Regions from separate parts of the Homo sapiens genome. Here all the other regions are linked to region 3. Evidence: promoter capture Hi-C in 16 types of primary human blood cells and fetal thymus (Javierre and others, 2016). All regions are on one chromosome and are shown on one strand. The core of a region is centred on a gene start or on the middle of the fragment in contact, and the rest is flanking DNA. Distances in the headings are between cores, read along the strand shown.

The links. Contacts are between HindIII fragments. The CHiCAGO score rates a contact against its expected background, and 5 or more counts as called.
Region 1: a fragment that was not itself captured here is called in contact with the fragment with the promoter of LINC01530 in region 3 in 1 of 17 cell types (total CD8 T cells); the score reaches 5.8 in total CD8 T cells.
Region 2: the fragment with the promoter of PRKCG here is called in contact with the fragment with the promoter of LINC01530 in region 3 in 1 of 17 cell types (naive CD8 T cells); the score reaches 5.8 in naive CD8 T cells.
Region 4: the fragment with the promoter of RPS9 here is called in contact with the fragment with the promoter of LINC01530 in region 3 in 3 of 17 cell types (activated CD4 T cells, total CD4 T cells and naive CD8 T cells); the score reaches 6.1 in activated CD4 T cells.

Annotation. Positions count from the first base shown.
Region 1 is chr19:54,093,554-54,097,476 of GRCh38, reverse strand. It overlaps OSCAR (osteoclast associated Ig-like receptor), which reads left to right. Exons shown (of 5, transcript NM_133169.6): 3 at 313-615; 4 at 1,324-1,605; 5 at 2,120-2,809. The coding sequence ends at 2,256. Among named protein-coding and RNA genes, the nearest start is that of OSCAR, 5.3 kb to the left of the region's middle. The HindIII fragment of the contact is 5,004 bases long and covers 1-3,923 here.
Region 2 is chr19:53,879,976-53,883,678 of GRCh38, reverse strand. It overlaps PRKCG (protein kinase C gamma), which reads right to left and starts at 1,482. Exons shown (of 18, transcript NM_002739.5): 1 at 1,015-1,482; 2 at 485-516. The coding sequence starts at 1,184. RefSeq lists an enhancer at 479-1,030. The HindIII fragment of the contact is 17,886 bases long and covers 1-3,703 here.
Region 3 is chr19:51,592,644-51,596,249 of GRCh38, reverse strand. LINC01530 (long intergenic non-protein coding RNA 1530) reads left to right here and starts at 1,870. Exons shown (of 2, transcript NR_034159.1): 1 at 1,870-2,301; 2 at 3,199-3,606. RefSeq lists a silencer at 953-1,120 and enhancers at 1,203-1,252, 1,463-1,772, 1,519-2,154, 2,155-2,790, 2,791-3,426. The HindIII fragment of the contact is 8,842 bases long and covers 736-3,606 here.
Region 4 is chr19:54,198,593-54,202,446 of GRCh38, reverse strand. It overlaps RPS9 (ribosomal protein S9), which reads right to left and starts at 1,589. Exons shown (of 5, transcript NM_001013.4): 1 at 1,559-1,589; 2 at 1,166-1,287; 3 at 838-960. The coding sequence starts at 1,262. RefSeq lists a silencer at 1,276-1,769 and an enhancer at 1,532-2,201. The HindIII fragment of the contact is 3,345 bases long and covers 1-2,927 here.

The sequences.
Region 1 (3,923 bases), core at 1,168-3,667, 2.5 Mb before region 3:
CGCCCCCTCCCATCTCATTACTTAAAAATAATAATAATAATAAAATTACAGAGTTCTGGGACCTGACCTTTTGAAACTGTGTTTACAAACTGTGGAGTAAAGCTCAGAAGTTTCTGTCCTGCCCCTCTGATTTGCACCTGGTTTTAACAAGGCTTGATTGTAGTCCAGTCTCTCCCTGATTTTACAAACAGGAAACTGAGGCTAAGAAAGGGGCAGTAATTGTCCAAGGTGATTTTCCTCCTTCCCCAACTTCCCTTTCATCTTCTGGGGCTCCCAGGAGGCCCGAGGACCCAGGCAGCCCCGTTTATTCAGTCCCCCCAGCTTCATACCACCCTAAGCCATGGCTGGGAGCTCAGCCGGCTACAGTTGTGACCCCTGGGGTCAACGTGACCTTGAGATGCCGGGCACCCCAACCCGCTTGGAGATTTGGACTTTTCAAGCCTGGAGAGATCGCTCCCCTTCTCTTCCGGGATGTGTCCTCCGAGCTGGCAGAATTCTTTCTGGAGGAGGTGACTCCAGCCCAAGGGGGAAGTTACCGCTGCTGCTACCGAAGGCCAGACTGGGGGCCGGGTGTCTGGTCCCAGCCCAGCGATGTCCTGGAGCTGCTGGTGACAGGTGAGGTCCTGGGGTCGGGGAGGAGAAGTGGGTGGAACAAGGGAGTTGGGGGAGGGACAGAGAGATATAGGGAAAGAGAGACAGAGCGAGGCGGGCAAACAGATTCACAGACACAAGAAAAGACAGATACAGAGACACTAGGGGGAGAGAGAGAGACAGGGGAGCAGAGAGAGAGAGAGGTACAGTGCGGGGGGAGAGAGAGAGAAAGAGGCAGAAGGAGAAAGGGAGGCAGAGAGAGAGGGAGGCAGAGAGAGAGGGAGGCAGAGAGAGAGGGAGGCAGAGAGAGAGGCAGGCAGAGAGAGAGGGAGGCAGAGAGAGAGGGAGGCAGAGAGAGAGGGAGGCAGAGAGAGAGGGAGGCAGAGAGAGAGGGAGGCAGAGAGAGGGAGGCAGAGAGAGAGGCAGGCAGAGAGAGAGGCAGGCAGAGAGAGAGGGAGGCAGAGAGAGAGGGAGGCAGAGAGAGAGGGAGGCAGAGAGAGAGGGAGGCAGAGAGAGAGGGAGGCAGAGAGAGAGGGAGGCAGAGAGAGGGAGGCAGAGAGAGAGGGAGGCAGAGAGAGAGGCAGACAGAGAGAGAGACAGGCAGAGAGAAAGAGAGGCAGAAAGAGAGAGAGAGGCACAGAGAAAGCGAGAGACAGAGGAGAAGGAGAAACAGAGCGAGCGAGCGAGCGGAAGACGCTCACGCGGCCCCGGACTCTCACCCCGTCTCTGCAGAGGAGCTGCCGCGGCCGTCGCTGGTGGCGCTGCCCGGGCCGGTGGTGGGTCCTGGCGCCAACGTGAGCCTGCGCTGCGCGGGCCGCCTGCGGAACATGAGCTTCGTGCTGTACCGCGAGGGCGTGGCGGCCCCGCTGCAGTACCGCCACTCCGCGCAGCCCTGGGCCGACTTCACGCTGCTGGGCGCCCGCGCCCCCGGCACCTACAGCTGCTACTATCACACGCCCTCCGCGCCCTACGTGCTGTCGCAGCGCAGCGAGGTGCTGGTCATCAGCTGGGAAGGTGAGGGCCCTGAGGCCCGGCCCGCCTCCTCCGCCCCAGGAATGCAGGCCCCAGGACCTCCGCCCTCAGACCCAGGAGCCCAGGCCCCCAGCCTCTCCTCCTTCAGACCCAGGGGTCTAGTCCTGCAGCCCCTCCTCCCTCAGACCCAGGATTCCTGGGACCCAGCCCCTCCTCCCTCAGATCCAGGAGTCTAGTCCTCCAGCTCCTCCTCCCTCAGACCCAGGATTCCCGGGCCCCAGTACCTCCTCCCTCAGACCCAGGACTCCAGGCCCCCAGCCCCTCCTTCCTGGACCCAGGACTCCAGGCCCCCAGCCCCTCCTTCCTGATCCAGCAGTCCAGGCCCCAGCCCCTTCTTCCTGGACCCAGGAGTTGAAGCCTCCATCGACTCCCCCTCAACTTTGAGACTGTAGAGTCAGGTCCCTAAGTCCACCCCAGGGGCTGGAAACCTGGAGTTCAGGGCCCAGACTTTGGGGTCCGGGAGCTGATGGCCCCTCTCTCCCGGCTCCGCCCGCAGACTCTGGCTCCTCCGACTACACCCGGGGGAACCTAGTCCGCCTGGGGCTGGCCGGGCTGGTCCTCATCTCCCTGGGCGCGCTGGTCACTTTTGACTGGCGCAGTCAGAACCGCGCTCCTGCTGGTATCCGCCCCTGAGCCCCAGGAGCACTGCAGCCCGAGACTTCCAACCTGAGTGGCGGAGAAGCTGGGACCCTGGGCTGGACTGTCCTTTCCTGCAGCCCCACAGTCCTGCTGGCTGAGCTCCGCGGAACGGTCCTTAGACCCCGCTGTGCCCTGTGCTGTAGCTTCTTTCCAGGCCTTTCCCAAGGAGTAGCTGAAAGGAAGACGCGATTAGTGGTTAAGACTTCCAAGCCAGAAGACAGAGGGTTCGAATCCCAGCACTGCCGTCTACTCACTGTAGTAGTAGCAGCTACAGAAAGGTAGTAGTGAGACGTGAAGCCAGCTGGACTTCCTGGGTTGAATGGGGACCTGGAGAACTTTTCTGTCTTACAAGAGGATTGTAAAATGGACCAATCAGCACTCTGTAAGATGGACCAATCAGCGCTCTGTAAAATGGACCAATCAGCAGGACACGGGCGGGGACAATAAGGGAATAAAAGCTGGCGAGCGCGGCACCCCACCAGAGTCTGCTTCCACGTTGTGGGAGCTTTGTTCTCTTGCTCTACACAATAAATCTTGCTGCTGCTAACTCTTTAGGTCCGTGCCATCTTTAAGCGCTGTAACACTCACCACGAAGGTCCCTGGCTCCATTCTTAAAGTCAGCGAGACCACAAACCCACAGGAAGGAACCAACTCTGGACACGGTAGCAGCATTCAGAAAGCGCCCTTCCCCAACTCTCTCTTGCCTTGACGGTAAAATGGATGCACTGATAAAACCCACTTCATAGGATTGTTGTAGGAGTCAGTGGGTAATACACATAAAACATTTAAAGCAGTAACTGGCCCGTAGTAAGTGTTCAATAAATGTTAGCTACCCTGTAACACCGATTTCTACCAGACTCAGTGCCGAAAGGAAGGTCTCACCTTTTTGCCATCAAGCATAATCAAGCACGACTTTTTCTTTCTTTCTTTCTTTCTTTTTTTTGAGAGAAGATCTCACTCCACCCAGGCTGGAGTGCAGTGGCGTGATCTCGGTTCACTGCAACATCCGCCTCCCGGGTTCAAGTGATTCTCGTGCCTCAGTCTCCTGAGTAGCTGGGATTACAGGTGTGCGCCATCACGCCCAGCTAATTTTTGTATTTTTAGTAGAGATGGAGTTTTGCCAAATTGGCCAGGGTGGTCTCGAACTCCTGACCTCAAGTGATCCACCTGCCTCGGCCTCCCGAATAGCTGGGATTACAGGTGCGTACCACCATGTCCGGCTAATGTTTGTATTTTTAGTAGAGACGGGGTTTCACCATGTTGACCAGACTGGTCTTGAACTCCTGACCTCAAGTGATCCGCCCGCCTCAAGAACTGAATTTTGAAGTCTAATTAGCCACCTGGGGGCGCTAACGTGTTGAAAAGACGGGAGGAGAGACTGAGCGGGTCTTCCGGGGTTTGATCTCAGTGCCAGAGGGGCCTTGGTAGAACATATGTGGGACAACCTCCCCGGCATATGTGGCTGTGGGAAATAATAACAATTTTAAAAAAGGAATAAGCCGGGGGTGCTGGCTCACACCTGTGATCCTAGCACTTTGGGAGGCTGAGGCAGGTGGATCACGAAGTCAGAAGTTCGAGACCAGCCTGGACAACATGGTAAAACCCCGTCTCTACTAAAAATACAAAAATTAGCCGGGCATGGTGGCGGGCGCCTGTAATCC
Region 2 (3,703 bases), core at 233-2,732, 2.3 Mb before region 3:
AGTAGCAGCTGGTGCTCAAGGACTCGCCCCCCTCTCCCGCCCCCCAGAACTGCCGGCCCCGCCCGGCCCCCACTCGCCCATTGGTGACCCCACCCGGCCTGCCCCTGCCTAGGACGGCTGGTGTTGTCATGGCGACGGCAGCCTGGGGTGGGGGGGGGCTCTGACTTTGCATCTCCAGCCCCCTCCCCCTTCCCCCCTTCAGCTCCCCTTTTCCAAATCTCCATGTTCCCATGGCAACAGATTCTCCAAATATCTGTCCCCACCTGGAGCCGGCCGAGGGAGGGGCCCCCAGCACCACCTCCGCGGTGGCCCCACCATCAAAGCTCCCTCCCCACCACAGGCTGTGTCTCTGCCACACCCCCCGCCCCGGGCTCCCCCGCGCCTCTCTGGGGACCAGAGAACACGTGTGTCAAGCAGCCTCAGCTGTGGGGCCCCAGCCTCCACCCTCCTGAGGGTCCCAGGAGCCCCGGTCCCCAGCTCTTACCTTGACATTGCAGGCCCTGCTTTCCGATACCCCTGGAAGAGTCAGGGATCCTAGGTCAGTGCAGAAAGGGGTACCTGGACCCCCAACCTCTGCGAGCCACAGGGGGCCTGCGCTCTCTGACCCTCCTCCCGCAGGGCCCAGGTGTCCAAGCCCCGGCCACCTCCTCTTTCTAGAACCCAGAAATTTTGGCCCCCAGCCCTTCTTCCCTTAGACTGGAGTTCAGCCCCCAGTTTCTTCCTCCTTCAGACCCAGGAATCCAGGCTCCCAGCCCCCCAGGCCCTTCCTCCCTCAGACCCAAGACTCCAGGACCTCTGTCCTCCAGCCTCCTCCTCCCTCGGACCCAGCACTCCAGGAACCAGCCTCCTCCTCACTGAAACCCAGGAGTCGAAGCTCCCAGCGTTCCCTGGCCATCCTAGAACCTGGGAGTCGGGACTACAGCCCCCTCCTTCTTCCTTCCACAGGGGTCGGCGTGATAGGAGTCTGCACCCCTAGTCCCCTCGTCCCCCAGTCCCCCAGCCCCCTTCCCTCACCAGATGAAGTCGGTGCAGTGGCTGCAGAAGGTGGGCTGCTTGAAGAAGCGAGCGGTGAACTTGTGGCTCTTGACTTCGTGGACCACCTTCTGCCTCAGGGCCCCCTTTCTGCAAAACAGGGGCCGGGGTCCCCCCTCTGAATCGCCTACGCCGGGGCCCAGACCAGCCATGGCCCCAGAAACGTAGCAGGGACCAGGATCCTGCCTTTCTTGGGGGAAACAGGTGGAAGGGAGAGGAGCTGGAGACTCGAAGGATCAAAGGAGCCACAGGGAAATTCCGAGGTGGGCAGGAGAGGGGCAAGGCACCTCCAGGTGCGGAGCGCGCCAGGCAGGGAGCGGCACCCCGGGCGCGCCGGCTCCGCCAGGGGGAGCGGGCGAGTGGGGAGGAAGAGCCAAAGGCAGGGGCGCCGGCAGCCGGAGGCACGGGCGGCGGCGGTGGGAGCTCCAGCTCCGGCACCTGCTGAAATGTGGGAGCCCCGGGTTGGGGGAGGCGTTGCCAGGACGACCGAGAGGGCGGGGTTTCGGCTTAAAGGCGCTCCCCTCCCGGAGACACGGGACAAATGTCCTCCCTCCCCGCCCCCCACACGTGCACACACCCACTCCGGGGGCTGGCTGGAGGGAGGGGCATCCTCTGAGCCTGGCTCCCCCCCACCACCCTGCAATCTGTCATCCTGCCCCGCGTTCCTCCCCCACTAGGGTGCCTCGTGTGTCCTGTGGGCGCCCTGGGGTCCCTGTGTCTGACCCTGCCCCTCTCCTTCCTTCAACAAACTTTATGCTCCACGCTAGGGGTCCAGCAGTGGACAGGCAGGGCGCTAAGGTTCTCACTTTCTCCGATGCCGGCTGAGTCTTTATTTCCTCCCCTGGCCTCTCCATTATTTGTGTAGCTCTCTGCCTGCGTGTGTCTTTCTTGTGACCTCTGTCCCTCTCCCTCTATTCCTGGAGCGAGCTTTCTCGATGTGTCTCTGTTTCTGCCTCTCAGTGGATCTGTTTTCTTTTCCCTGTCTCCGAGAAATGCTGTTTCTATTTCTTTCTATTTCTCTATTTCCTCTGCTGTGTGTCTCCATCTGTATCTGTCGCCATCTCTGGGTCTTGGTGTCGTGGTTCTTCTCGGGGTCTTGGTCTGCCTCACTGTGAATCAGTCTCCCTCTGTCTCTCCCTCTACGTCTGATAAATTCTTCCGCCTCTGTCTCCCTGAGTTTGTTTCTTTCCCTGTCTTTGTCTCTCTGGCTCTGTGAATCTCTATTCTCTCTCAGGCTGTGACTCTGTCTCCCCCTCCCTCTGCAACTTGATCTCTTTGGGAGTCCGTCTCTGTCTTCCTCTCTGGGAGTCACTCTCTAAATGCTTGCCCCTGTCTCTCCCTCTCTCTCCTCACCTCCACCCGTCTTTATAAATGCCTTTGTCTCTGTCTCTCTCCCTTCCTCCGGTTCTGCAACTCCGTCTCTGTTTTTGTTTGTCTCTTCCTATATCTCTCTGGTTCCATCTGTTTCTCTGTACTTGTCCCTCTCTGGCTCTGTTGATCTCTCTCTCTCTCTCTGATGCTAGGGGGGTCTCTCTCCTGTCTATGACTCAGTCTCTCTCTCCCTCTTCTCTTCTCTGTCTCTGTCCCTTTCTCTCTGACCCAATCTCTCTCCCTCTTCTCTTCTCTGTCTCTGTCTCTGTCCCTTTCTCTCTGACCCAATCTCTATTTGTCTCTCTGGCTCTATGAATCTCTTTCTGTTTCTGGGGATCTCCCCGTCCCTCTGTGTCTGTGATTCACTCTCCCTGTGTCTCTGGCTCTCTGAATCTATTCATCTCTCTGACTCTCTGAATCTGTGTCTCTGGCTCTATGAATGTCTATGTCTCTCTGACTCTGAATCTGTGTCTCCGGCTCTATGAATGTCTCTCTATGTCTCTCTGACTCCCTGAATCTGTGTCTCTGGCTCTATAAATCTATGTCTCTCTGACTCTGAATCTCTCTGTGTCTCCGGCTCTATGAATGTCTCTCTATGTCTCTCTGACTCTGAATCTCTCTGTGTCTCTGGCTCTATGAATCTCTATGTTTCTCTGACTCTGAATCTCTCTGTGTCTCTGGCTCTATGAATGTCTTTCTATGTCTCTCTGACTCTCTGAATCTCTGTGTCTCTGGCTCTATGAATCTCTATGTCTCTATGAATCTCTGTGTCTCTGGCTCTATGAATCTCTTTCTATGTCTCTCTGACTCTCCGAATCCCTCTGTGTCTCTGGCTCTATGAATCTCTCTGTTTGTCTCTTTGGCTCTGTGAATCTCTGTGATTCAGGCTCTCTGAATCTCTCTATATGTCTATGAATCTCTCTGTGTCTCTGGCTCTATGAATGTCTCTCTATGTCTCTCTGACTCTCTGAATCTCTGTGTCTCTGGCTCTATGAATCTTTCTATGTCTCTCTGACTCTCCGAATCTGTGTCTCTGGCTCTATGAATCTCTCTGTTTGTCTCGTTGGCTCTGTGAATCTCTGTGATTCAGGCTCTCTGAATCTCTCTATATGTCTCTATGAATCTCTCTGTGTCTCTGGCTCTCTGAATCTCTGTCTCTGGCTCTAGGAATCTCTGTCGAGGGTCTCTAGATAGAGACTTCCCTCTCTGTGTCTCTGTGATTCAGTCTCTCTCCCTCTTCCCTTTTCTGTGTCTCTCTCTCTGTCCCCTTCTCTGACCCACTCCATGTGTCTATCTGGCC
Region 3 (3,606 bases), core at 621-3,120:
AAGGCAGAAACTTACCTAACCAAGCTCCCCGTCTCCCGGAAGCAACACCACCTTTCACCCAGCTTCTCTATGGAAGACAACTCAGCTTTTTCAACCTCTGAATCTGCAGTCACCTAGTACTGGGGTTCACTTCCTGAGGTCCTTATCAGATCCAGTTGCATCCCTGTTTTAGTTACCTACTCACCTCAGCCAGATGAACTTCCCATTGGTTTTTCAACCCCTTGCATCTTTGGCCAGGCTGATCTCATTGCGCAAGACACTTCCCTAAACACTGTGGTAGACCTAACTCTTACCTTCAAGTCTCAGCTCAAACTTTCATTCATTCATTTAACAAATACCCACTGAGTGCCGCCTATGTACCCAGCATGCTCTAGGTACTGGGACACAGCAGTGAGCAAGATAGGAAAGGTTGCAGCTGTCAGGGCACTGATGTTCTAATGGAGGAACCAGGCCATGGATAAGGAAGTAAATGACTAAGATGCTTTCCAAATACGAGGGAATTATCTTTGGTGGTATGACTGGGGGGGGGGGAACAGGGAGGGGGTTCTTTAGGGTGGCTGGAGGCCTTTGAGCTGAGGCCAACAAAATGAGTAGACAGATATTGGGTCAGGGTGGGAAGAATGCTCCAAATTGAGTTAATAGCAAATGCAAAGGACATGAAGGGCAGGGCCTGGCTGTGTTCAGCCCATTGGAAAGTGTGTTGTGACTGAGGACGACCAGAAAGGACCAGAAGCTTAGAGGTTGGCAGGATAAGGAGCTTGGATTTTATTCTGAGATGGGAACCACTGGATGATTTTAAGCTGGGGGGCAGGGTAGTGACTGGTGACAGGATCTGATTTATATTTCCACAGGCTTCCTGGCACTGTGCCTGAATAGAGGGTGGAGTGTGGCAAGGGAAGAAACAGAACAGTGAGGAGGCCCCTGCAGTGATGCAGGTGAGGAGTAACGGTAGCTCGGAGCAGAATGGAGACAGTGGAAGTGGAGAGAAGTGGTTAGATTCTGGGCCTCTTCTGGAGATAGAGACGATGAGACTCACACAAGATTTGGTTGCGGGAGGGAAGCGGATGAGAGAAACAGAACACTGGCGACCATTCCAAGATTTTGGCTTGAGCACTTGGATGGACAGTTAGTGGGGAGGAGGCAGAAAGATTGTGAGAGGAGCAGGTTTAGGACAGGGAATCTGGGATTTCGTTTGGATGTGGTAGATTTGAGGTCCTTTGCTCTGTAAGGTCTTTCCTGAACCCTGGGCTGGGTCTAGCACCTCCTCTGTGTTCCCACAGCCTCCTGAGCACCCCCTGGGCCAGCCCTGACCACTCTGTGTTGTAACCAGGACAGAGGAGGGTGCACTCGCACTGCACCCAGGTTGAAGGGCGAGAGTGAGAAGGTGTCAGGCTGGGCCGCAGAATCCAAAGCGGGTCAGCAGGTACAACAGCTGCTTAGAGCACTCCCACCCGGAGAGAGGGATTGAGAGATCACGGAAAAGGGTGCCATCTTTCCAGGGACGCCTACCAGAACGCGGGGGAGAGAAATACAGAGACCCTCAACTCCGCCACGTCATCGCGACAAAGGGCCAGGACCGGCCGGCCGCGGGATGGGCGCTCACCTGGGCAGAACTGGAGCTGGAAGGGCCAACCTCCAAAGAAACGAGGAGCGGGCGGAAGGACTACGACTCCCGGAAGGCTTTGGGCCCATCCGCCTACGACTCCCAGGTGCCCCTGCGTTGCGTCGTCCCGAAACACTTGCGGCTCTCGGACAAACTGGGCCTACAGTTCCCAGAGATCCTCGCGGCAGCGCTGCGCATTCTGCGCACGCCTCCCAGAGTGTACTAGGCCGGTCCGGCCCGCTTCCCGTCTGCGCCTGCGCAAGCACAATAGCCGTGCCAGAATTCTCTGCCAGCTGCTGTGCACTGCTGTCAGTGCAAAGATGGGATGGACTTTTTTTTCAGATTTTCTGCTGTTGTGGGAGTATGGCAAGAGTTTGAGGGGGCGGAGAAAGAGATTGGGAATGTGAAAAGGGAAGATAGCACCTGCGCTAAGCACATTCCTAGGATTGGGCCGCGTCTCGGGGATGCAGAGTGGGCTCTTCGGCGCGCCCTGCAGCCATGGGAGTGGACGCCTGCCCAGGCCGAAGGGCAAGGACTTGCGGGGTGGGGTCTCTGTGCATGCGCGGAGCTGAAAGGGAGCGTTTTGCAGATCTCCACGCGTGCGCAACTCTCGGGACGTGGACGCGGTGAACAGTTACGCACAATCGTCTTTCTGACACAAACACACCCTGCCAGGTGGAAGCCAGGATGGAGGGCAGGTGAGACCCGTAAGGCAAGATCCCAAAACCAAGGAACGGAGCACTCTCCCCGCTTGCTCCCCAGATCCAAGCCCTCCACTTCCTTCCAATGCCCCCCTTCCCGAAACTGCTCCCTCCTGTATATTCTGAGATCTTATCACTATTCCCGTGAGGCCCTTGATAAGGAGGATTGAGAGTGAAGGGTGATGGGAGACACGCCTTGGGCGTCTTCTGTCCACCTCAAGGATTGAACTTTGGTAACTGGAACTCATTCATTTGTTAATCTGTGTGCTAGGCCCTTTGACCCGCTGGCCAGATGCACCGGGACACAGGTGTATTCAGCCTGGTCCAGAGATAAGGATGATAAATCTTAATGTAAAGGTATCAGATGTTAAGGGCTGCAGGAGCCCAGAGGTTACAAGTGCTGCAAGCCAGAACATGGGGAAACAACAGCAATTAAGCCGTTAGCTTGTGCCTTGGAGGGGTGTTTGCCCTGCACCCCACTCACTACCTGAAGATAAATGGCTTCTCCAACGTGTAGTGGGGTTGGGATGATGAGGATGACATCACTGCCAGGTGGGAGGCAGGAGCTGCAGGTCCTGACATGATGAGGCAGGTATGGGCCGCCCTGGGCTGAGGGGGACATGGGCTACCCTGGACTGGAGGGCTGGGCTGTGGCATGGGGACCCTGTCAGAGACAGGTGTTTGGCCTCCATGCCTTCCTGTGTCTCTGGAAGGGTGAAACTAAGCGGGATGCTCCTCTCCCAGCCCCACCTGCTTTTCAGAGGCTACCATATGCTGGAGGGGGAAGATCCTGGCCACAAGCAGAGGCCCTGGAGGTGAATCAGTGTTGGAAGTGGGGTGGTTGGTTCTGGGTCCTCCCTGAGGCTCACATGGCTGCCCCTCCCCATCCTCCAGGCCTCGCCTTCTGTCCCGGATCCGCCAATCCTCCGATCCCTGGATCCTCTGATGATGGCATCAACTGTCTGGGCTACAGGTTGCTCTCCAAAGAGTGGCTGCCCCTCTACACCAACCTCACTGTGGACATAACTTCCAAGCCTCAGGAGACCCAGTGCAAAGCTGAGGGGTATCTTATCTGGAAGCCAGAAAGAGCCCCTGAGGCCAAGGTCACAGGGAAGCCCTCCCACTCACCCCACCTGGTTTCTTTTAAAAGTAGAGTTTATTTTATCTCCTTTCTGCCATCCCTAATTCCTTCCTTCCATCTGTCCATCCATCTTCTTTCCCCTCCCTCCCTTCCTCCCTTCTCCTTCTCCTCCTCCCCACACCTGCTTCTTTTCTCTTTCTTTCAACTATGTCCAGAAGGTC
Region 4 (3,854 bases), core at 340-2,839, 2.6 Mb before region 3:
GCTAAATACCACCTAAATGTCCTTGACCAGCTTAAAAAAACAAGCACCAGCCTGGACAACATGGTGAAAACCCATCTCCACTAATAATAGAAAATTAGCCAGGCTTGGTGGCCCATGCCTGTGATTCCAGCTACTTAGGAGGCTAAGACAGGAGAATCGCTTGAACTCTGGAGGCGGAGTTTGCAGTGAGCCAAGATTGCGACAACTACACTCCAGCATGGGCAATGGAGCGAGACTCCGTCTCAAAAGTAAAATTAGCCAGGTGTGGTGGCGTGCGCCTGTCTGTAGTCCCAGCTACTTGGGAGGCTAAGATAGGAGAATTGTTTGAACCCAGGAGGCGGGGGTTGCAGTAAGCCGAAATGGCGCCACGGCACTCCAGCCTGGGCAACAGAGCAAGACTCCGTCTCAAAAGACTAAATAAAACGAGAAAACTTAATTAAAAAAACAATAAACCAAGCAAATGTGCAAACCCTGTTATCACCATCACTTAGCCCAGAAATTCCACTTCATAGTCTACTCTCATCCACTAGCAAACAGGCCACATAAACAGAATATAAAGATATAGACGGGTGCCCAGGTGTGCCAGGCCTATCTTTAGCTCTGGTCATTACTAAACTGAAGGTCCAATAACTGGGCAAAAAAGCCACACACCTAAGAAACAGGGCAAAGACTGATCCAGATACACTTTTCCTACTCCACAAGTGCCACTAAAAGTTAGAAGGCTGGTTCCATTTATCCAATGACACAACTCTCATCACTGGAACAGAGGCAACAGAAGGGAGAATGAACCTCACAAGCCCTGCACCCCATCCCTCTGCTGTGGACTCCCATACGCACCTTCGAACAGACGCCGTGGGTCCTTCTCATCAAGCGTCAGCAGTTCCCGGGCGGCCTTGCGGATCTTGGCCAGGGTAAATTTGACCCTCCAGACCTCACGTTTGTTCCGGAGCCCATACTCGCCTGGTGGGGAGAAGGGGGTGGACAAGTGTAGTCCCACGTACTGGCACAACAACTAGACTGGCAGCTTTGGAATCACAAAACCTTCCTAAACCACGAATAGTACCAAATTTAGGGGACGGACTAGATAGAGTACATGGGCACCTTCATCCACGTGCTAACCGCCTCCCGGAAGCCGAACCACTTCCCGGAAGCCTTGGCCACTCACCGATCAGCTTCAGCTCTTGGTCGAGACGAGATTTCTCGAAGGGTCTCCGCGGGGTCACATAAGTTTTGCGACAAACCCAGCTCCGGGCCACTGGCATGTTGGCTCCGCTTCCCCGTCTGCGCCTGCGCGGGAGAGAAGTGTGAGCGTAAGGGATCCAAACGGCGCCTGCGCAGTCCCACAACTACGCCAAAACCTCGCGGAGCCCAGATCCGATCTCGCGAGAATAACCTCCAACGCTCTCATAGTCAGTATCTGCCCCCACAACCGTGCTGCACTCCCGTTCAACCACCCTGCTCTGTTTCCTAACGTCTTTAGCTTACTCATGGAAACTCGGAAGGCCCGGGCCACCATCCAACCCAAACCCTAGAGAAAAAGCACACCACCGCACCTCACCTAAGCAAACCACCCGGTCACTGAGAAAGAGGCGCGGAAGCGCCACGGCTGCGCTCTTATAGTAACGCCGGCGTCTCGTGACGTTTTCACGCACCACGCACGTCAGAGCCAATCAGAAGAGGCGTTGGCTGGCTGAGAAGCAGTGGAGACGTGAGGCTGGGCTAGAGCGGCGTGCTAACCTGGGAGGACTAGGTTTTTTCCGGCCAGGGAGTGGAAACCTGAGAAGTAGGGAGAACCTTCCTTCTCCGCCCCTGGACGGTGGTTTTTCTTTTTCTTTCTGAGACAGGGTCTCGCTCCGTCGCCCAGGCTGGAGTGCAGTGGCGTGATTTCGGCTCACTGAGGCCCCGACCAACCTCTCGGGCTCGAGCGATCCTCCCACCTCCTCCCCAGTAGCTGGGATTACAGGCACACGCCACGACGCCCGGGTAGCATTTTTTTTTTTTAACAGTCGGCGTCTTGCCATGTTGCCCAGGCTGGTCTTGAACTCCCGGCCTCGAGAGAGCCTCCCGCCGTGGCCCCCCCAAAGTGCTGGGATTACAGGCGTGAGCCACCGCGCCCAGCCGAGATTATTTCTGTCACTAACAATAATGTGGCATTCTGGAACGCTATGTGCCACATACTGTTCTAAGAATTTTAAATGTATTTACTCAATCTTCAATACATACTTACAGAGCACTCTCAGAGAAGTTGCCCCCCCACCCATGGTACTATTATTATCAATAGCCACTTAAGGGGTATTAGTACTATTATCAGTAATTTATTTTATTTTTGAGACGGAGTTTTTCGCTCTCGTCACCCAGGCTGGAGTGCAGTGGTGCGATCTCGGCTCACTGCAACCTCCGCTTCCCGGGTTCAATCGATTCTCGTGCCTCAGCCTCCCGAGAAGCTGGGACTACAGGCGCCCACCACCATGCCCGGCTAATTTTTAAATTTTTAGTAGAGACGGGGTTTTGAACTCCTGGTCTCCAACGCCTGACCTCAAGTGATCCACCCGCCTCAGCCTCCCAAAGTGCTAAGATTACAGGTGTGAGCCACCGCGCCTGACCTAGAGTTCTCTTTTTATATATAGTCTGGTTATTGTCTGTCTGTACACCCATCTCTCCACTCCGAATGCGATGGTCTGTCTCCACAGCTCGTGTTCTTCAGTTGTCTTCCCTACGCTGCTGCCTCGGCAGTCACTATCTCCTCAGGAAGCAGTCCCACCCGCCCCTTTCTCTTCCACGGCATCCACACCATCCGGATGCCTGGATTCAAATGCCACGTCACCACTTGCCAGCTGCAGTGCCTTCGACAAGTTTCTCAATCACTCTGTGCCTCAGCGTCCTCCTCTGTAAAACGGCGAATGATGGTAGCGCCTACCTCATAAGCTTGTGAGGATTAAGTGAGAGTCTATCCAGTGTTGAGGAGAGTGGCATAAATAAAGCGCCTAGTGGTAGCTACCATCGTCATTATTGTCATCTGCATTGTACTTCCATATCTTACAAACTACCTTGTTCAGTTTTATGGGTTTTTTGTTTGTTTGTTTTGTTGTTTTGAGACGGGGTTTTGCCATATTGCCCAGGCTGGTCTTGAACTCCTGGGCTCAAGTGATCCACTCGCCTCAGCCTCCCCAAGTGCTGGGATTACAGGTGTAAGCCACCATGCCTGGCCAAATTTTATGCATTTTTGTATCTTGAACACGCGTATATTATTCATCTGGAAGGGGGAAACGTGGAAGGAAAAAACTTCCATAAGTTTTCACTCCCTTCAGGATGAAGTCCAAGCTCCACAAATTCCGGGTGCCTCGTGATTACAGAGATGGTTTTATAATGGTGGTTGAACCTGTAGGTTCTCAAGTCTTAAAAAAGATCTGCGTTTGAACCTCAGCAGTCACTGACGAGCTCTTGATCTTAGGCAAATTAGCCTCTTCAAGAGTGCTAAATGGGAGAAAGTAACAGGACTTTCCTCATAGGGTTTGATGATTTAGAGTAAAAAAAAAAAAAAAAGAAAAGAAAACCAGCACAGAGTCTTGTGTACTGAAGGTGCTTAATATCTTAACACAGCTGACTCTGTACAGTCTGGGGGCGAGGGGCACTGACCCCCAGCTCAGCCGAAAACCTCCATATAGGCTGGGCGCGGTGCCTCACGCCTGTAATCCCAGCACTATGTGGAAGGCCAAGGCCGGCGGATCAACTGAGGTCAGGAGTTCGAGACCAGCCTGGCCAACATGACAAAACCTGGTCTCTACTAAAAATACAAAAATTAGGCAGGCGTGGTGGCAGGTGCCTGTAATCCCAGCTACTTAGGAGGTTGAGGC